7 separate regions of the Homo sapiens genome follow, and regions 1, 2, 3, 4, 5 and 6 are each linked to region 7. The links are contacts of gene promoters, found by promoter capture Hi-C in blood cells and fetal thymus (Javierre and others, 2016). All regions are on one chromosome and are shown on one strand. The core of a region is centred on a gene start or on the middle of the fragment in contact, and the rest is flanking DNA. Distances in the headings are between cores, read along the strand shown. Region 1 holds the start of ZNF775 (zinc finger protein 775). Region 2 overlaps REPIN1-AS1 (REPIN1 antisense RNA 1). Region 3 has its middle 4.2 kb from the start of LINC00996. Region 4 overlaps LOC107986858 (a long non-coding RNA gene). Region 5 holds the start of ACTR3C (actin related protein 3C). Region 6 overlaps LOC728743 (zinc finger domain-containing protein LOC728743). Region 7 holds the start of ATG9B (autophagy related 9B).

Region 1 (2,780 bases), core at 55-2,554, 650 kb before region 7:
GCAACTAGAAAATTATTAACCCTATTTTATAGACGAATAAGTCAAAGTCCAGAAACAGAAAAGTATCTTTTATAAAAAGTACACATGAAGTTAGTGACAAAATCGAATCTCAGTCCCCAGTTCCTGCTGTGCTACTGAGGCTAAACCGCAGCCGGGCCTGTGGCAAATGTTTAATCAGCTGTTGACTGAAGAAAATAAGGTCCGCCTGCCCAACAGCAACCGTTTGTAGAGTCTCAGAGGCCCAGCTTCTGTCTGTATCTACCTCATGCCCCAGAGGCAGCTTCTAGCAGCTCCGGAGAGCATCCTGCCAGTGGGAGTTGACCCAGCTGCGCCCCCTTTGAGGGAGAAGTGTGAGGAATTTCCTTACAATGGGGTGGGGAGTTGCGAAGATACTCCTTCCTGAAGGTCTGGCAGTCTGGACCGGGGTGGCAACTGGGCGGAGATGATTCCGCTCACGGGAACCCTACCTAGTAACCCGACCTAGTAACGTAACCTCAGAGCCGTTCCTCAGCTAGAAAACAAAGGGATTAGGCCGGGCGCGGGTTTGTAATCCCAGCACTTTGGGAGGCCGAGGCCGCAGGGTCACTTAAGCTCAAGAGTTCGAGACCAGCCTGGGCAACATGGCGAGACCCCCATCTCTACAAAATATTTAAAAAGTTAGCAGGTTGGGAGGTTCGGTTGAGCCACGGGTTCGAGGTTGCACTGAGCCATGATCGCGCCACTGGGGTCTGAGCGAGACCACCTCCCTGAAACAGAAAACGAAGGGGTCGGGTATAATGATTTCTAAGGTCCCTCGTAGTGAACCCTAAAAGTTATCACACCCCACGGTGGGGCTATCGCGGCTTGAGGGCAGCCACAGCCTCAGCCGGGGTTTCTGTCCGGGCCCTGATGGGTCCCCAGCAGGGAGAAACAGCGTCCGGCGCGCTGTGGCGCTCGGCGAACGTGCGCTGAGTTCAGGCGTTACAACGGGGTCGCACGCGGAGTCCAGGCCTGGCAGGGGTGCCAGGACGCCGCCGGCCATCTGGGGCCCGACCTCCCAAGGTCTCCTCCCCGCGGCCGGCGGCTAGCGCGCTCACGGCGCCCGGGCCTTGCGCGCCCGCCGGGGGCGAGGTCAGCCCTCCCCCCTCGGCTATTGGCTCCAGAGAACAAAGGAGCCGCCCCGCGGGCTGCTCCGATAGGGCCGGGCGGGTCATCTGAGCGGCGCAGCCAATGGAGTGGCTGGGCGGCCCCGGGGATGGCCAGGCCCGCCAGCCAATCAGGCACCCGTGCCCGCCCCGCCTGCCCCGGGAATGGCCAGGGCCGGGAGCCCGGTGCCCAAGTCGCCCTCGGGGTGGCAGTTCCCGTTAACCTTAGCCACAAAGTCAAAGGTATTTATTTCCCCGTCGCCTCCCTCCGAGTCCCTCTGCATTTTGGGCGGGGAGGGGCGGTGCGAGGGATGGACCAGCGCCCGGCCCCGCTCCTCCCGTGCTGCCTCCGCCCGGCCCGGGCTGGGGCGGAGGGATGGGGCGGGGGCCTGGGGTGCCCCGAGCCCCGCGCGCCCCCCGAGCCCCGGGTCTCAAGCGTTCCCTCTGCCCCGACACAGCCGAGGGGAAAGGGGCGCGGCCGAGGGTGGGGAGGGCGCCAGGCCAGGGCAGCGAGGTTAGGAGGGAGGCTAGTGAGAATGGAGGGAGGACGCGGTGGCGAGTAGAGGGGTCGCCCGCGGGCGGTCTCTCCTGGGCTGTCCCGTTGTTCCGAGTTCCCCGTCCCTGTTCGCCTCCCTGATAGATCAGTTTCTGGGGGCAGGAACCCCAATGCTCGCTGCAGAGTGACAGACACATAGTAGGTGACCAATAAATGTGTGATTAAACGAGCGGGGATAAGGATTGGGGGTGGAGATAAGTGAGAGGGAAGCACCGCAGAAGTTGGAAGTGTGTGGTGTCGGGTGTGGCGGAGAACTCCTCTCTAGGAAGATGGGCACAGCAGCCGCGAACTCGGTGGGGCGGGGTGCGGGCATCCCCTCTGTGAAGAACGTTGAGGATATCTACATGTGGAAGGTGTGGAGATGGGTCCTCCTTCGGCCCTTTGAGCAAGATGATCTGAGCTGGGGCTGGGTGTGGTCAGAGCCCCAGGGGTTGGAGGCGGACGACAGCCCAAGGCTTCACAGCTAACTGTTCCCATGTTCATCTGTAAAATGAAGAGATTAGATGGCAGTTGTCTCCTTTCAGCTTGAAGGTTCATGCTTCCGTGCTTCAAATCTGTTTTGTACTGAAATTTCTTTTATTTAAGTGTTCCCTTATGACAGTTTTTATTAATGGATTACTGTGTGTGGAGCCTGTACTGGGTGCAGGGGAGAGAGAAGGACCCTGTGTTAAGATGCATGTAGTCTTGTGCAGACTAACAAATTGATGACAATGATGATTCCATGTAGATGGTCCTAGGTGCACAGGTTAAACAGAGAAGGGATTCCTGGCTGTGCCTGGTGTGTCCAAAAAGGCTTCCTGGTCAAAGCGATCCCTAATCTGGGCTGGGAAGGGGAGAACTGAGCAAGGGCCTTCCAAGGTTGGTCACAGGGTGCGAGGACACGGTGAGTTCAAGAGCCACGAGAGGATGGGGCGTGTCGGGGTGCAATGGGGAAAGATGAGCAGAGTTGAGTTCTCAGTTCCCTCTTATCCGAGGTGTGCGTGCCAGCAAGTCCATTTGGTGGGGGTCTGGGTTTCTGAAAAACAACTCAAGGACATATGCTAAGATGTTACCTTTAGTTTCTTTAGGCAACCACACGTTTCGTGTGGTCTGACTTCCTT
Region 2 (2,936 bases), core at 134-2,633, 660 kb before region 7:
TCACATGGGCAGAGGAAAATTCACAATCACAAGCTTTCTAATGCAAATGTGCTGAGAAAAGGGGGTGTTGGTGAGGAGCATCTCTGCCTTTTTTCACCAGGGAGAAAGAAAACTTATTTTTATTCTTTTTGATTTGTATTTGCTTTTACAATTCTCCTGGCTATCTGGGTAATTACATGTGTCTTTGTGTTGGCGGGGGTACAGGGGGAGATTCAGCTGCAGCACAGGCCGGCAAAGTGACAAGTGTAGCAAGATGCTGCGCTGAGGGCTTGGGAGACAGAGGGAGGGGCCTCGAGCCCAAGAATGCCTGGGAAGCAGCTCTTCCAGCCAGAAAAGGCAAGGAAGGATTCTCCCCTAGAGACTTTGGAGGGAGTGGGGCCCTGCCGACACCTTGACTTTGGCCCAGTGAAACATTCTGGGCTTCTGACTTCCAGCCGTGTAAGATAATAAATGCCAGTTATTTCAGGCCGAGCTGGTGGTCATTTGTTAGAGCAGTCCTAGGAATCTCATCTAGGTGTGAAGCTATTTTAGAGGGGTTTGTTGGGAAGCGTGTTTTGAGGCGAGGAGACTTCAGCCAAAATCTGAATACAGTGAAGAACGGAAGTCCATGCGGACCTGGAGGAGGATCGTCTAGGCAACTCCAAAGGCCCTAAGGTGGAAATGAGTGGCGGCTGCTGGGGCAGTGTCTGGCAGGCGCATGGAGGTCTGCAGGAACCCTGCAGGCCATGGCCGCGGGTTGGATGTCAGTCCAAATGTTAGCAGGAGGCGTCGGAGTTCCCTAGCAAGGGAGCTGCTTGATCTGATTCATGTTTAAAGGGCCAAGCTGGTTAAGTGGAGACAGGACTTTATGGGGCCAGAGCGGAGGCAGGAGGAGTGGCTGGCCACTGCTGCAGAGTCCTGGTGAGGGAGACTATGGTGCAGGGGTGGGGGATAAGGGTGGGAAGCAGGCCTCACCGTTATGGGGCACACGCATGTACCAGTTTCCTCTGCAGGAAATCTGAGCCATCTACCTGATACTCATTTTACCAGCTGGATTCTTTTTTCTTTTAGCAAGAGACTCTGGGAACTAGATATGCGGCAGGAAAGCATCTTGTGTGGTGGAATTTGGGGACTGACATTTGATCTCAGCCCAGGGCTACTCTTACAGCGTGCGTCCCTGTCGTGCATTATACATGTTTTCATGCACTTAAAGATATTTTTAGAACTGCAGAAGTAGAAGCACTTTGATCTTTTCCTGAATAATTTTCACATGACTTAGCAGGCCTCCTTCCACCTGAGATGGGAAACCTTGGAAAGTGAGGGGGCCTTCTTCAGTGTGTGCCACTGTAGGGGTTTTTCCTCAGCCCCCCTAGATTTGTGGTTGGAACGGACTCCTGTTACAAAAGACAGATTAACAAGAGAAAAACCAGTGGAAGTTTATTAACATGTGTATTTCACATCTGCCTGGGAGACACGCAGGAATTGAGTAGTTCTCAAAGTGGTAGCTTTGAATTCCAGCTTGTATAGCATCTTCAACAAAGAAAAGCCAAGTTTTAGGGAAGCGACAGGACAAAGGAAAAGAACTTTGAGTGTCTAAGGGGAGAACTTGTAGAAAGGTAAGTAACTGGCAGATAAATAGAGTTAGTAAAGCGCCTTCATGTCCATTCCTCTGGTTCCAGCTCCAGGCCCATAAGAGTCTAAAGTTGTCTTCAGTGGTTAACTTTTCCCTGGTCGAGAGAGGGAGCAGACCCCTTTTATCCTTCTAAATCTATATCCTGCATTTAGGCAGTGGAGGGCAGAGAGCTTTCTTCCATTTACTTTTTCACTGCCTTCAAGCTCAACAACCCTTCATCTTTCGGGGCCTCCCCAACTGCGTTCTCTTGGTGCTCTCCAGCTGGGAAGGCTCAAAGGATGGGAAGTGTGTACAGCACGTACCTGTGACTGCTACCAGAGATTTGCCCCTCCTCAGGGTCAGTGAGGGATGTGCTTTCTGCTTCCTCCCCAGACTGCAAACCCCTGGAAATTAGCTGCGTGAGAGTCTTGCATATTTGCCGTAGGGATGCGGCAGGAGGTAACGGAGATGATAGTCAAGGGAAGGTTCATTAGAGCAAATTGATCCTCAGTCTCCTCCAGCTTTCCACAGTCATCCATCCAGAAATTATCAACAAGCGCTTGTTTTTATTTTGTAGTAGGTACCAAACCAAGAGTTATTTCCGTAGTTAAATAAGCGTTAAAAGTCTTCTCAGCACCCTCTCACATTGTGGGAAAACTGCACAGACCACCTCTGCCTGACTCATGATGAGGCCGGGCACCTGGCACAGTGGCAGATGGTGGGCACTGATTAAATATTTGTTGGATGTATGAGCAAGTCCTGTGGGGGGAGCTGGAACTGTATGTCTGCAAGAAGTGGGTGCAGTTTTCCCTCTTCCAGATACAGGGCCACTTCTGAACAATACTTGGGTGTCTTCACAGAGGATTTCTGGAGACACTGTTCCTGTCACCCCCTGGCATGCCAGCCCACTTTGCATCTAATCTGATAATGGGAGCCAGGCACTGTTGGAGGGGAAAATTGATCCTCCCAGGGGCCCTATCAATATTCGCTGTCCAGTGGGCCCCTTCCTGTCCAGCCCTTTCTCCGGCTAGCTTGTCAAAAGCTGAGACCGTCTCCACTGGGCTAGGCCATTGGGCCATTTGGCTGGTTGCTGGGCCATCCTCCAAGACATTTTGAAGGGTGAAGTCTCAAATACCAAGGCCTTAAGCTTCCAGCTGGCATAAAGGCTCAGGAATCCCTTCGCAACTCCTTTGCCACTCATTTTCTTTCTGCAGAGTGAAGGCACAGTCATACTTAGTTTCCTCTGGCGATGCTAAAGAGGAAGTTACAGCAGGTGGTTAACTCCTGACTGGGAGAAGAGACATTTCCTCTAATGGAGGCTGGGGAGAGAGAAAGAAGGTTAGGG
Region 3 (2,900 bases), core at 265-2,764, 590 kb before region 7:
ATCCTCCATCCACCACAACTTACGTATCCCGCTGTCCCATGTCCCTGTAGGGCTAATGAGAACTTCTCCAGGCCAAGCAGTGGCAAAGTGGTGCCAACAGCTCCATGCGTATTGGGGCTCCCACGTCACGTGAGGGTGCTGAGGGCCTCAAACGCCTTTCACCAGAGGCCTGACTAGTGCGGCAGGTCAGGAAACAAGAAGAGACTTTAGAAGAGGGAGGCCTTGCCTTGTGTTCCTCAGAACCGGGACACTTGGTCCTCACCGGGGTGAGGCTGGGCAGAGTGCACCCTCCAGCCGCCTGTACCTCCACAGCCCTGCAGGCCGAGAGATGCAAGATAAACTGTGGATGGCACCCACTTTGGAGTCAGGAGGCCTGAGACTCTCCCCCAGCTGGTTCCTTCACGACCTTGGGGAAGTCACTTCCTTTCTGGGGGCTACAGTTTCTTCACTGAAGAATGAGGAGGTTAGATGGGAAGTCACTACTTCCAAAGATTTGTTTTTTTTTTAATGAAAGTAAAATCTTATTTTTTCAAAATATCACTAGGAAGACCCATGGATCACCCCAGGAGTGTTCCAGCTACAGCATGGGATGGGTCTCCCTCTCCCCAGCAACCTTGTCTGCTGGGCCCACCCCTTAGGTGTCCGGGGGCCCCCACTAGAACCTGCAGAAAACATTTGGAACCCACTGGACTTGCTTGCAGGTCCCGTAGAGTCCCACCCTCTAGGATTCTCTAAGGAATTCACAGGTACCCCCTCCGACCCCCAACCACACTCTCCACAGACACATGCACAGAAACGTAAGCACTGCCCACAGCTGTGTGCACACACAGGGACTTTCAGAGGCATGATTCAGAAGCCACACTGGGCAAAGTGCCCTCCTGCTGTTTGTGTTCACTCACGCAGCCCTTGGCCGCCTTCTTCCTGTCTTCTTTATTTGCTGCTGTCACTCCCACCTCCTGTGGAGTAGACCAGATGGCCGCATCTGCCCAAGGAAGTGTCTACAGAGGAAATGGCAAAGTGCATTCCAGCCAAGGTAGAAATCACTGGCAGGCAAGCTCTCAGGGCCAAGGCACTGGGGCTTTGGAGTCCTGGCCTGGGTCCCTACCCAAACCCTTGTCCCCTCAGATACATCCCTAGACCCCTTCCTGAGCAACCTGGAAAGAACCCGCAGACCCATTTTCTGCACATTCCTCAGCCCCACAGGGAGAGGAAAATGCTCCACCTCCTCCAGTTGCTGCCCAGGCTGCCGGCTACGAGGGGCTGTGGCTTCCACATTCCCTTCTCCAGTGCAGCCAGGCTTGACCTTTCAGAAAATCCTTGACGATGGGAAGGACTCCCAAGGATGGCATAGAATAGCCAGGCCCAGCCCCTGGACCTGCATAAAGCAATTGTTTGGAGGCAGAGAGTCGGATGCCTGGTGAATGGGGGGCTGGTACTCAATATAGTCAGAGAAGGCAGTGTCCTTACTCAGCTGCTCTCAGAGCGAAGGCACTTGCCCTCTGCAGGCTGCCCCAGAAGCCAAAGGAAAGCAACTGGAAGCTAAAGGGAAGGTTTGGGGACTTTAATAGCTGATATAGTTTGGATATTTGTCCCTGCCCAAATCTCATGTTGAATGAAATGTAATCTGCAGTGTTAGAAGTGCCTGGTGGGAGGTGTTTGGGCCATGGGGGCAGATCTCTCATGAATGGCTTGGGCCATCCTCCTGGTGATGAGTGAGCTCTTGCTCTGAGTTCACATGAGATCTGGTCATTTAAAAGTGTGTGGCACCTTCTACCTCACCAACCCCCCACCTCTCCCTCTTTCTCTCTCTGTCTCATGCTGAAGGAGACATGGAACAGTGAGATTCTCCCTTGGAGCCTCCAGAAGGAACCTGCCCTGTGGACACCTTGATTTTAGCCCTGTAGGTTCATTTCAGACTCTGGACTTCCAGAACGCTAAGAGAGTAAGTCTGTGTTGTTCAAGCCACTTTTTGTGGTGGTTTATTATGCAGCAATGGAGAACAAATACACCCGGCATGTCCTGGGACAAAGCCTGGGGACGGCGGGGGGACTGAGCTGGACGCCCATACCCCAAAGCACGAAGGGAAGAGACCAGCAGCTAACACTCGAAGAGGCCGACTAGTTCTCAAAAGGGAGAAGAGGTATGGCCTGAAAGCCAAGGAGCAAGGGAGATGCTAACTCTAACCGCATTATTTTTTTGGAGACAGGGTCTCCCTTGGTCACCCAGGCTGGAGTGCAGTGGTGCAATCATGGCTCACTGCAGCCTCGACCTCCTGGGCTCAAGCGATCCTCCTGCTTCAGCCTCCAGAGCAGCTGGGACCACAGGTGTGCACCACCACGCCCTGCCCCCTAACCCCATTTTCTGTCCCTGGGGTACATGGGGTGTGAGATAATAAACAGTCCCCACTGGAGAGAGATTATTTAATCCTCATCCTACTCCACAAGACCATTATCGTTACGATCTTCCTTCTATAGATCAGGAACCTGAAGTACTTGGGGGTGGAGGTCACTTGCTCAAGTTCAGGCAGTTAGGAAGGGCAAAGCAGAGGTTTGAACCGTGCCTGCACCTGTGAAGTTTGGAAACCATCATCGCATTCCCCCAGGGGAATAGTCTAGGATCTGAGTTCCAGCTTCTCCATCTGAGGCAGCGGTCCCCAGGCGCTGGCAGCAACGTGCAGCTGCTGGGGTACGAGGCAGCTGCCTGCAGAGACCGTGCCTTCCCCTTGGTGCAGATGCAGTGGGCAGCCTGCACTTTGCTGCTCCTGTGTCCGACTCCTTGGGGTTCTGTTCTGGAGACAGAGCTCAGTGGACTCACAAGACGGTCACTTTCTTCTGTTGAGTCCCTGAGTTTATTTGATGAAATCCAGAACTGAAGTTCCTGGAATAAGTCATCTTACCACC
Region 4 (3,013 bases), core at 156-2,655, 680 kb before region 7:
TAGATTCTCATGGGGAGTGGGGGAGCCTTCGGGTGTGGCAGAACGGCATGATGGAATTCATAAGGTGAGCAGAAACTCAAGGAAAACTGTCCAAATACCGGCTCGACTCCTGGGTACGCTGGAGCAAGGATGAAGAAGCTCTGAGACTTTGCACGTCAGTAACCACCAACACCATGCCTCTGGTTCCCACACCGCAGGGATCACCTGAAGTAGAGGATCTCATGTAACTTCATGGCTCTCTCTGAACTTCTGTTTCTTTATCTGTAAGATGGGGATCAGAAACTCTGTCTTAAGGAGTTGTTTTGAGGATTAAATGAAGAAACATGAAAAGCAACTGATGTCCAGTGCCGAGCACAAGGCTTTTGTCCCCTACTTACGCACCCCTAACCAGGATTCTCCACTTAGAGCTGAGAATTTCCTTTACAGTGTGCTCTGGGGGCACCAGAAAGAAACTCGGCTTCCATTAACCACTTCCAGGTGTCTGAAATCCCACCACTACTTAGGGTACTTCACTCCCCAGCTGTGAGCTACTCAGCCGCCCTTAAGCAGAAAGAGATGGGATCCGTGTTCCCTGAAAGCTTTAGATGGGGTTAGAGAGAAAAGATGCACCCAAAGATGTTTCCCAGCCCAAGAACTTGAAGGAAACCAAAATATTTCACCCCAAAAAATACTTCTTTGACACATTTCAAGGTGGCTGTTCAGAATGGTTGGAAATAGAATAACCAAAAAGCTGTCTTTTTGTGGAGAGATTTGCATCTGTAGAGGAAATCTGCATTGATGTAGCCAGGCTTTCTCCGAGGCTCTCCCTTGTCTAACTCTAGGAAAGATTAACTGAGAGGCTGACACCTTTACAGATCTGAAAGAAACATTTACCCTCAGTTCTTTCTGAGGGCTGCTACCTGTGAGGTGTCATCTACCTAACAAGACTCCCTTTGCCAACCAGGCCTCCTCTTCCCTCCCTTCCATAACCTGTCTTGCCACTATCTGAGCCCCCATATTTGTATAAACTCAAGATGGTGGATAAGCTTCTGTATCCCACTGAGGGGTTGGGGTAATCACTTTGTGGTTCTCTCTCATGTATGTTAATAAATATTTCCTGTTAAAGCCGAGGCAGGAGGATTGCTTGAGCCCAGGAGTTCAAAGGTGCAGTGAGCTCTGATCATGAAACTGTACTTCAGCCTCTCTGGACAGAGCAAGACCTTGTCTCTAAAATATAAATGAATCAATTTATTCTATTAATCTGCCTTTCATCAGTTGATTTTTCAGCAAACCTTCAGAAGGCAAAGGGGAAGTTTTCCTTTGGCCCCCACAGACCCATGCTGGGGGACGTCCTGAGGATGGGTGAGGAGAGAAATCTTCCAGGACAAGGTAGGACTTGAGCTGAGCAAAGCGGGAAACTCATCCTGACTTTGGTGGGGGCTGGGGGGAAAGTTGCATCAGGTCTGTTGCAGGGGAGGTGAGGCAGTTGAGGTGGGGAGGTAGGTTGGGAGCAGGGTGGTGGGAGTTGGTGAGGAAGGAGCCAGTCTGGCTATACTTAAATGGCCACACAAAATTCACTTTGGGTGTAGGTATGTGAGGTGCACCCCAAAGAGGTGGACAGTCCTACTGCAGAGCACTCATAGGTGTGGATGTGTGAAAGGACTACTTAGGGCATATTCATGAGCTCAGCTCCAGGTAACATGTCCCAGTCCAGGGGAGCAACAACAGGACTTCACTATTTAATGATGGTTAATGATCTTCCTGGTCATGACAGCTAAAAAAGTAGACTCACGTATCCAGTTGTTCCAAGCTTAGTTTTCCAATAACTGAACTGAGTACCAAAAAACATTGTCCTTTAATATTTGCAACCACATTGACAAAAATAGTTTTTTTTAGAAGAAGTGATTTGACTTTGAAGTAAGAGCATATCAGTTGCAAAACTACACCTATTGAAGTTAAGTACATTTTCCAACTTGTGTCAATTCGGTACCATTAGCATAAATTCAAAAATGATATTGCATAAATTCAAAAGCCATTCTAAATTTATCAATATCAACTAAGAATTCTTCACATTTTTCTTGAAATTTTGCCAATTTACACAATGCTGTATATTACAATTAAAACCTCTGTATGTTGATTCTTGTGACAAAAGTATGTAGATTGTAATTATTTGTCAGTATTATGAAAATATTTAATTTGAAATGCTTATATTTATCTGGCTAGGTCACAAATGAGGTTTCATCTCCTTGGATATTCAAATTTAGCCCATTTATATGTAGTGTGGTATTGGTGAGAAAACACTGACTTTTTTATTTTTAATTATTGAATATTTGGGTTGAGAGTAGTGACTCATGCCTGTAATCCTAGCACTTTGGGAGTCCAAGGTGGGTGGATCACTGAACCCAGGAGTTCAAGACCAGCCTGGGCAATATAGAGAGAGGCTATCTTTACAAAAAAAAAAAAGTTTAATTAGCTGAGTGTGGTGGCAAAAGTCTGTAGTCCTGGCTACTCAGGAGGCTGGCGGGGGACGATCACTTGAGCCTGGGAAGTCAAGGTTGCAGTGAGCTATGATCATGCCACTACATGACCCTCCCACCTCAGCCTCCCAAAGTGTTGGGATTATAGGCTCAAGCCACCACTCTCAGACTTGGCCACAGAGCAAAACCTTGTCCCCAAAACAAATAATAATAATACTTATTGTTGTATATTTGGTAATCATGGCTTCTGTCTCAAGAAAATCTTGGAGTTAGTTAAAAGTACAGTAAATCTTAGGAGAACTCTTCTACAACCCTGACAATGAGCTTTGGTAAAGAAAAGATCATTAAATTCATTATCTTTCATTGCTTTCAACAGTTCCATAAAACCAGCAGTGATTCATAGCATTTCCACTTAAATACGGAATTAGTTTTAATGGCTGTAGCCATGAGACTTGCATAGAATAAATTTCAGAAAACTGAGCACAAATATCTTCAATATGTACCCTAAAGTGAAATGAAGCAACATTGGAAGCATCAATCTCTTGTTTTAGCATTCC
Region 5 (2,700 bases), core at 18-2,517, 700 kb before region 7:
GACTGGCACCTGTGACCACCACCCAACATGTATTGAACAAGGGCTTGGAGGTCCTTTCTCTAAGGCCGCACCGATAAACGATTACCGACTGTTGACCTCACGGCCCCTTCGCTTCCGGCCGCACCGCCTCGCTGCCCACGCCTGCGCACTCAGGCACCGCAGGTAGGAGGAACGTACCAACTGCGAGGCGGGGGGTGCGCGCGAAGACCCCCGCAGGCTGCGCTTCCGGAAGTAACCCCTGGCGCATCCCGGAATCCAGAGCGCCCACTACGGCCTTTGGCCAGGCCCCCTGGGCGCGTTCCGGGAGCTCAGGCCTGCGGCGCTGGGAGAAGCACGCTGGCCAACAAGTTGGGTGGTGGGCACGCGGCCCAGGGGTCAGGGGCCGCCAGGCGGCGGGCGGCGGGGCTGCGGCTCTTACCTGCCGAGGAGGCGCCGGCTCTGCGGTGCGGAGTTGCGCCGGACTTCCCAGCTTGGCCAGTGGCTCCGCAGGCTGCCGGCTCCACCCCTCAGGTAAGCGGGGACTGGGCCGCCGAGGTTCAGGGAAGGGGGCGGCTGTCGGGGCCCGTGCCGGCCCCGGGGGGCCACCTGCTGGGCCAGCGGTGCCCTCGCGCCGAAACACACTGGGAGAGGCCAGAATCTTCCGGAACAGCCAGCCCTTACCCATCTCTCCCTCTGTGCCGAGAACTGCCCTGAAATACTGTGGTATTAATTAACTCGTTTAACACTAACAATCTCATGAGGCGGGTGCTGTTACTATTCCCGTAATGTAGACGAGGAAACCGAGGCGTGTGCTGGAGCAGGATCACGGCCGTGCTCAGAGACGGGCTCTGGATGCCATGCTCTGACTCCATTGTTAGCCCTAAGCTTCCAGAAAGTAGCAGAGTGCTGCCGTGTCGTTTGTAACAGATCTCACTTTGTGTCATTTTTTTTGCACAGTATGAAACCTAATGATGCATGATTATTATTTAAAACATCTTGCTTAGACTTTATAAGTAGTCAAATTTGCGTGTGGGACAAAACCCCAAAACATGCAATGGCTTGCTCTCCTCTTTTCCTTTCACACGTTCATCTCCTCCTATCCCTTTCTCTCACCACCTTTCAATCTTCTCACAGATGTTGTGGAGGAAGATGAGACTTGAGGGCCCAGCAGGTGCTTAAAATCCCCTGCCTGGTGGGGGTGGAGTAGACACTCTGTCCCCCTGCAGTGCTGGAGTTGAGAGCAGAGGGGCTGGAGAGGGACTGGGCGGAGTGAGAAAGGCCTGGCATAATCATGGAATGCCCAGGGTGGGGTTCTACTTCTCTTGCAGGCACAAGAGAAGTAGAAGAGTGGCCGCTTTCCTTCTGGGCACGCACTTGGGAAAAGGCTTGGTGAGAGCAGCGAGAAGAATAGGTCTAATTTCTTGAGCCAGTGTGCGGAGGTGCTTCCCAGCCCAGGCTAAGCCAGATCACTCAGCCAGCCGCTGGCTGCCTTTACAGATGTACGGCTCCCCGTGAGCAATCAACATGCCTGGCTCTCAGGCATAAGCTGCCTCACTTCCCTTCTGCACAGCACTCCAGGACTTGCCTGCTACCAGACCCATCCTACTTTCTCTGTCAGGAAAAATGAGAGTTCTTCCTGGTCTCTTGAGGCCAATCCCTTCCACCGCCTGTGCCCTGGATCCCTTTCTCCAGGAAGCTTCTCTTCCCTGTGTAGTTAGCCTCCCCGCTCTTCCCAGGTCACCTTCTCTCTGTTTAGGGACAGAGCCAAGCCTTTTCCCTCCCATCCCCACCTCCAGCATTCCCGGTTCCTGCTTCTCCCCCACTTCCTGCTGTACCGCCCACTGAAGGGACCTTTGACCCCGCTGACCACTGCTTTTGGAAAGTCTTTTCTTGGTTTCCCTAACTTCACTTTACTTTGGTTTTTCCTTGTCTCTCCCCTCTGCCTCTCAGTCACCTTTGAGATCTGCTCATCCTCTCACCTCCCTGTATTGTCAGCATTACCTGGGCAGCCCCCTCTGGTGTTTTCCTTCAGTTTCTCTAGAAACTTGCCTGAAGATTTGCCCCAAAATAGCCCACATGGACCTGTATGAGGAAAGAGGCTCACTGTGGAGGCGCTCTCCATCATTCCTCCTCTTCCACTTGAGGCTTAGGCATGGGCCACCTCCTGAACAGCTCTCCCCACAGTCTCCTCCATGCATTGTGCCATCACCCCGCCCTGCCGTCACCCCGGCCTGGCCCGCTTTCCCTTTTGCCTCCCAGGGATGTGCCTGCTTCCCATGTGGCCTGGCTAGGGCGCTTTCCTGACTGCTGCCCACATGATCGACTATGGGCAGGCGTGCAGCCCAAAAGGCCGTGCTTCAGCTTAGAAGCCCTTGGAATCTTGTCTTGTTGTGGTTGTAGGCCTCCAATGTGTTGTCAGCTGTGGTGATGTGTGTCACAAGTAACTTCTTTTTTTTGAGACAGGGTCTGGCTCTGTTGCTCAGGCTGGAATGCAGTGGTGCAATCACGGCTCACTGCAATCTCCACTTCCCTGCTCAAGCCATCTTCCTGCCTCAGACTGCCAAGAAGCTGGGACCACAGGCACAGGCCATCACAGCTGGCTGATTTTTTTGTATTTTTTTTGTAAAGACAAGGTTTCGCCATCTTGCCCAAGCTGGTCTCAACCCCCTGAGTTCAAAGCAGTCCACCCACCTTGGCTTCCCAAAGTGCTAGGATTACAGG
Region 6 (2,700 bases), core at 87-2,586, 620 kb before region 7:
GCCTTTAATGTTTAACCGAGGTCACTTTCAAGTTTACAGGGTTGTGTTTTTTTTCCTGTTTTAAGCTTCACAAAAATATCTTTAAATCACTGATAATGCCACCCTTTTCTCCAAGTTTGGGGTGCACTTCCCTACCTCCCCCTGTCCTTGAGATCTGGTTGGAGGGATAAGACATATCTAGACGAAGGTAACTGAAAATCCTAGCTGAAACTGAAACTGAAAATCCTAACTGAAACTCATCACCATCTGTCTAGTGTCTTGTGTGGCTGGCTGGCATGGTGCTAGGTGCTGGGGTTGAAAGAAGGCAGCTCTGTCCTTAGGGTGCTGGGAGTCGGGGGACAGAGGTGGCATGACTGACCCTCGTGCAGTATGATCAGTGAGAGCCACATGGTTGTGTCACACGGTGTTTAAGCCCGGGGTGGAAAGGTCAGGGAAGGCTTCTAGGAGAAGGTGCCCTTGGGAAGGGACTGGAAGGAGTGTAGGCCGTGCTTAAAAGGCAGTGGAGGAAGAGGAACACCAATTCCCAGCAGGGGAACTTGAGCTTGAACAAAACGGGGCGAAAGGTGGAGGTTGTGGGAGGTGAGTGTCCCTGCCAGGCTGGGGGTTGGCTAACCCTCGTGTTCCCCGACCCCTCTCTCTCCACCCCCCACCCCCGCCCCCGCTTCTGTCTCCCTAGGGACTGGTGATTGCAGCTGGAAGTGCCCATGACCGAGCTGGCGTCCTCCGGGGGCGGGTCCCCTGCGGGGGACGGGGAGGAGGGTCTGGGGGACGAGCGAGGCCTGGTCATCCACCACCCTGCAGAGGAGCAGCCCTACCGCTGCCCGCTGTGCGGCCAGACCTTCTCGCAGCAGCCCAGCCTGGTGCGGCACCAGAAGGCGCACGCCGGAGCGGGCCGCGCGGCTGCCTTCGTGTGTCCCGAGTGCGGCAAGGCCTTCAGCGTCAAGCACAACCTCGAGGTGCACCAGCGCACGCACACCGGGGAGCGGCCCTTCCCCTGCCCCGAGTGCGGCCGCTGCTTCAGCCTCAAGCAGAACCTGCTCACGCACCAGCGCATCCACAGCGGCGAGAAGCCGCACCAGTGCGCGCAGTGCGGCCGCTGCTTCCGCGAGCCGCGCTTCCTGCTCAACCACCAGCGCACCCACGCGCGCATGCCCGCGCCGCACCCGCGCCGCCCCGGCGTCTTCGGGGAGCGGCGGCCCTACTTCTGCCCCCGCTGCGGCAAGAGCTTCGCGCGCGAGGGCTCGCTCAAGACCCATCAGCGCAGCCACGGCCACGGGCCCGAGGGCCAGGCGGCCCACTTAGGACGCGTGCTATGATGCGCCCGGGGCCTGCTGCCGACGGCTGCTTCCCGCCCCGCACGTGCGTCCCCGACCCCTGGAGATGGCCCTGGGCCGCAGCTCCCTCTCTAGATGGGATCCCGGGAGAGGGGCAGCGCTGGCTTGGGCTCTTGAAGGTGTGGGCCGCCGCCAGGCTCCGGCCGCCCGCTCGCGTTCCTCCCTCGGGACCCTCTGGCTGGCTGCGCACAGCTGCTTCCGGCTCCTGCCATGGTTCTCCTTCTCTGGCCCATCCGGCCTAGAGCAGGTGAGACCTGCGGGGCTGGCCAGAGCCCCTCTCAGGGCTGGGAGTGGTGGGGGTGGAGTGCGTGGTGTTGATTCTTGATGGCAGGTGGGGCGGTCTGGGTACCGGGCTGTAGGTTTCTCTGTGATGAGCTGCTTACCGGATCTTCATCCCCAGAATGTCAGAGTTGAAAGAGACTTGGAGAGGCCACTTTCCACAAACCCCACGCCCAACCTCAGCCCCTAGGCCTCCTGGCTCCTGTACACACTCTCTGCTGTCCTTGAGATGTCATTTCACTTCATGTTTCAGTTTACTCATCTGTAAGTTGGGGATATAGATGAGGGACTCTTCCTCGCTGGGATATATTGCAGCTACTGGATGAGAGAGGGTGAGGTCACTGGTGCACAGAGCCTTAGTTGATTCTGCCACACCATGTGCCACTGACTGTGCCGGGCTGGGCTCTCCCAGAGACACACATGAGGACCGCAGGCCCTGACACGGGGTGCTCACACTCGGTGTGTGACGCGGGGCCAACCTACAAAGTGCTCTGGGGTGAGACCGAGGAGGGTGACTGGTTTCTCTTCGTCACCCAGGGGAGTTTGATGGCTTTGAACCAGGTCATGGGGACAAATAAAATTGTTCTAGGAAGAGCAAGTGTGTAGAAGGGTGTTTTCAAGGGAGGGGGGGTCCTGATAGTTCAGTGACTGTCTCCAGGTGTCCCAAGGGGAGGTTTGCCCTACAAAGGACTTCGTGGTCAGGGGGTGGGGACACTGAGATTTTTAATGAGATGAGTGCTATGATCTCAGACTTATGCTTTAGGAGGAGAATCAGAGGCACTGTGAGGACAGACTGATGTGGGAAGAGCTGGAGCCTCGAGGGGCTTGGGTCATCTGGGCAAGAGAACATAAGGCCCCCAGCTAAGAGGCCTGGCCAAGGTCTGGCAGTGAGAAAGGGGGCAGCCAGGACTCTGCTCCAGGACCTCTGGTTCCAAGCTGGCGCTCTGAGGCACGGGCCTCTTCAGCCTTTTGGCAGATGAGGAAACAGGTTTGCCAAGCTTGCCTACACCACAGTTGGTACTTAGGGGTACAACAGGTGGAAGCCAGGGCTTTGTTTTGGATTCTGAATCCCAGAACCTTTTAGCTT
Region 7 (2,700 bases), core at 117-2,616:
TGGTTGGTTGGCAAAGAGAACATTGTAATCCACGCATCGAAGGAGGAAGGTTGTGAAGGTGACAATGAAAATAAATTGTCTGCCGGGAGGAAGGGGGGGTGCCGGGATGCTGCAGTGATCAGGGACAGCCAGGTGGGCTCCTGCCCCAGCCCCCAGAGCAGCCCATGGTTATCCTCCCTGACCCTGCCCCTGCTGAGCCCTTGGGCTGCTCGGGAAAGCATGGGATGGAAGCAGCTGGCACAATTAAGGAAGCAAAATGACAGAAGGAAGCCATGGGCCCAGGGGACCGAGTTCCGGGCCCGGGCTAAGCGTCTCACCCCAGCTGGAAGACATCCTCCAGCAAGATGCAGGCAAAGCCATTCCGCTGGTGGTAGCTGTAGATGTGGCTGCGTGTCAAGGAACAAGCCTGAGGCACGGGGGGCCTCTCCTGAGGACACCTCCCCTCAGCCCCAACAAGTCTCCCACCCATGACGCCCTCACGGAGTCTCCCTGCCAAGAACAGTGCCAGCTCCAAGAGGACCTTCCCATGCCACCTCTGCAGGCCTAGCGCAAAGGATATCTTGGTGAAGAAACTGTCCAGGTTCTGGATGTGATGCCAGGAGCCTGGGCACAGAGGGGAGAGTGTCAGCCCCTGGCATGTGATCAATTCTCCACGTTCTCAACCCGCTGCCAGAGGCCCAGCCTGGGATAAGTACTGGAGCTCCCAGGCACCACTAACCCTCTCCCACCCACACCCACACACATACCTCGGAGCCCTTCAGGGACATGAAGCAGGGGTTGCTGCTCCTCCCCGTGGATGGGTGAGTCTTGGGACCCCTCAGGGTCACAGTCCTCCAGCCGCTCATAATCCTGTTCAGGGATCAAAGGGCCTACCCGCAGCCCAGGAGAGTCCTGGGGGCACTGCTGTGAGGGAGTGGGGGTTGCCGGGGCCAGGGGTGGGGTGGAGTGGGATCCCCAGGAGGGAGATGCAGAGGCAGGTGTCATTGCAGGTTGAGCCTGTGTTGGGGGGGTGGCTGGGATAGGGAGAGCACTGTGGCAAGACTGAGAAGCCCCTGTCCCCTGTAGCACTGAGCAAGGGGGCCCTGCGGTGGGAGGGGAAAATGAGGAGGGGGAGCTTCTTGTATGAGGGGCAGGGGACAGAGAGAAGATGGAGATCCTCCCTCCCCCAGGTCCCCGGCATGAAGGAGGAGGAGGAGGTGGCAGTGGCATGGGGAGGAGGGGCACCGATCCGGGCCCCAGATCTCCCCACCGCCCCAGCCGCCTTCTTCTCCCCCCCCAGCCCATTCGGCTCACCATCAGGCCACGGCTTCTCCAGAAAGGTTGGAAGGATGGGAGCTGTTGTTGCTTCCACAAAGGTCTGTGACACTGAGCTGGGACTTCAACAGGAACAATGACAACAACATTACTAGGTGACTCAGCCTAGGCAGGCCTCAGGCGTCCCAGCTCTCAGTCACCTGTCTGATCACTCACACCCCTTCCAGGGCAACCTGAGGCCAAATCCCTCAGGGCCTGAGAGGGGCATCAGTTTAAGAGGAGGGGCCAAAGAGCACATTGAGATGAGAAGATTCCTATTATCTCCATCTTCAGACCTTGAATGAATGAAAGATAAAAAGAACAGCAGCCAAAATGACAAAAGCAAAAAGCAAAATCGTGTTAGAGCCAGGTGTGGTGATGTGTGCTTGTGTTCCTAGCTACTCAAGAGACTGAGGTGGGAGGATGGCTTGGTGCAGGTTACACTGGAACAGTATAGGTTACAGTGAGCTAGATCCTGCCCCCTGCCACCCCCCCCAAAAACATCCTATTAAAGGATTGTAGCAGGGCGCAGTACCTCACACTTGTAATCAATCTCAGCACTTTGGGAAGCCGAGGAAAGAGGATTGCTTGAGGCCAGGAGTTCAAGACCAGCCTGGGGAACAGAATGAGAAGACTCCATCTCTACAACAAATCTTAGGACCAAGATGTTAACTATTTCATTTCTTAAGAGTGTACCTCCCCCACTTCCCTCCACACACACACTACAGTGATCAACAGAGAAATGTTTTGTGACCAAAACAGAAAAGAAGAAGTAAAGGGGCCAGGCATGTTGGCTTACACCCGTAATCCCAGGACTTTGGGAGGCCCGGGCGAGAGGATCACTTGAGGCCAGGAGTTCGAGACCAGCCTGAGCAACTTAGGGAAACACCATCTCTACAAAATCTAAAAAACAAACAAAATAATTTTTTTTCTTTTTGAGGCAGTCTCACTCTGTCACCCAGACTGGAGTATAGTGGCACAATCTCGGCTCACTGCAACCTCCGCCTCCCAAGTTCAAGTGATTCTTCTGCTTCAGCCTCCTGAGTAGCTGAGACTACAGGTGTGTGCCACCACACCCAGCTAATTTTTTGTATTTTTAGTAGAGATGGGGTTTCACCATGTTGGCCAGGCTGGTCTTGAACTCCTGACCTCGTGATCCACCCGCCTTGGCCTCCCAAAGTGCTGGCATTACAGGCGTGAGCCACTGCGCCTGGTCAAAAATAAATTTTTTAAAAAGAATAAGAAAAGGTTGCATGTTTTATTGGTCTGAGGTGCTAAGGAAGAGAAGAGGGGAGGCTGACTTTGCAGCCAAGTTGGGGAAAACTAAGAAGAGGAGGTGAAGAAAGGAAAGGCAGCTATCTTGGATTTGAGAGTTGGTTTGGAGAACTTAGAGTAGAAAATTGGGGT

The links. Contacts are between HindIII fragments. The CHiCAGO score rates a contact against its expected background, and 5 or more counts as called.
Region 1: the fragment with the promoter of ZNF775 here is called in contact with the fragment with the promoter of ATG9B in region 7 in 1 of 17 cell types (neutrophils); the score reaches 6.9 in neutrophils.
Region 2: a contact is called between a fragment that was not itself captured here and the fragment with the promoter of ATG9B in region 7, in 3 of 17 cell types (naive B cells, monocytes and total B cells). The highest score is 7.4, in naive B cells.
Region 3: a fragment that was not itself captured here is called in contact with the fragment with the promoter of ATG9B in region 7 in 3 of 17 cell types (naive B cells, total CD4 T cells and total B cells); the score reaches 6.2 in naive B cells.
Region 4: a fragment that was not itself captured here is called in contact with the fragment with the promoter of ATG9B in region 7 in 1 of 17 cell types (non-activated CD4 T cells); the score reaches 7.0 in non-activated CD4 T cells.
Region 5: a contact is called between a fragment that was not itself captured here and the fragment with the promoter of ATG9B in region 7, in 3 of 17 cell types (non-activated CD4 T cells, naive CD8 T cells and naive CD4 T cells). The highest score is 5.7, in non-activated CD4 T cells.
Region 6: a contact is called between a fragment that was not itself captured here and the fragment with the promoter of ATG9B in region 7, in 2 of 17 cell types (non-activated CD4 T cells and total B cells). The highest score is 6.8, in non-activated CD4 T cells.

The regions. Positions count from the first base shown.
Region 1 is chr7:150,378,026-150,380,805 of GRCh38, forward strand. It overlaps ZNF775 (zinc finger protein 775), which reads left to right and starts at 1,305. Exons shown (of 3, transcript NM_173680.4): 1 at 1,305-1,367. It overlaps ZNF775-AS1 (ZNF775 antisense RNA 1), which reads right to left. Exons shown (of 2, transcript NR_183445.1): 2 at 1,820-2,163. RefSeq lists enhancers at 294-453, 2,464-2,523 and a silencer at 864-1,673. The HindIII fragment of the contact is 8,122 bases long and covers 1-2,780 here.
Region 2 is chr7:150,361,268-150,364,203 of GRCh38, forward strand. It overlaps REPIN1-AS1 (REPIN1 antisense RNA 1), which reads right to left. Exons shown (of 4, transcript NR_183429.1): 4 at 1,391-2,910. Among named protein-coding and RNA genes, the nearest start is that of REPIN1, 6.1 kb to the right of the region's middle. RefSeq lists a silencer at 2,864-2,913. The HindIII fragment of the contact is 2,705 bases long and covers 32-2,736 here.
Region 3 is chr7:150,427,983-150,430,882 of GRCh38, forward strand. No RefSeq gene overlaps it. Among named protein-coding and RNA genes, the nearest start is that of LINC00996, 4.2 kb to the right of the region's middle. RefSeq lists an enhancer at 844-1,013. The HindIII fragment of the contact is 4,508 bases long and covers 1-2,900 here.
Region 4 is chr7:150,342,274-150,345,286 of GRCh38, forward strand. LOC107986858 (a long non-coding RNA gene) reads left to right here. Exons shown (of 3, transcript XR_001745420.3): 1 at 1-64; 2 at 1,255-1,368. Among named protein-coding and RNA genes, the nearest start is that of RARRES2, 2.2 kb to the left of the region's middle. The HindIII fragment of the contact is 764 bases long and covers 1,024-1,787 here.
Region 5 is chr7:150,323,051-150,325,750 of GRCh38, forward strand. ACTR3C (actin related protein 3C) reads right to left here and starts at 495. Exons shown (of 8, transcript NM_001164458.2): 1 at 419-495. It overlaps LRRC61 (leucine rich repeat containing 61), which reads left to right and starts at 305. Exons shown (of 3, transcript NM_001142928.2): 1 at 305-510. RefSeq lists a silencer at 355-674 and an enhancer at 1,065-1,134. The HindIII fragment of the contact is 811 bases long and covers 863-1,673 here.
Region 6 is chr7:150,406,908-150,409,607 of GRCh38, forward strand. LOC728743 (zinc finger domain-containing protein LOC728743) reads left to right here. Exons shown (of 3, transcript NM_001395976.1): 2 at 677-1,581. The coding sequence starts at 705. The coding sequence ends at 1,316. Among named protein-coding and RNA genes, the nearest start is that of ZNF775-AS1, 24 kb to the left of the region's middle. RefSeq lists an enhancer at 42-91. The HindIII fragment of the contact is 2,546 bases long and covers 64-2,609 here.
Region 7 is chr7:151,023,128-151,025,827 of GRCh38, forward strand. ATG9B (autophagy related 9B) reads right to left here and starts at 1,367. Exons shown (of 14, transcript NM_001317056.2): 1 at 747-1,367; 2 at 560-603; 3 at 318-382; 4 at 1-79. The coding sequence starts at 1,296. It overlaps LOC124901777 (a long non-coding RNA gene), which reads right to left. Exons shown (of 3, transcript XR_007060593.1): 3 at 1,868-1,906. RefSeq lists an enhancer at 2,278-2,700. The HindIII fragment of the contact is 8,592 bases long and covers 1-2,700 here.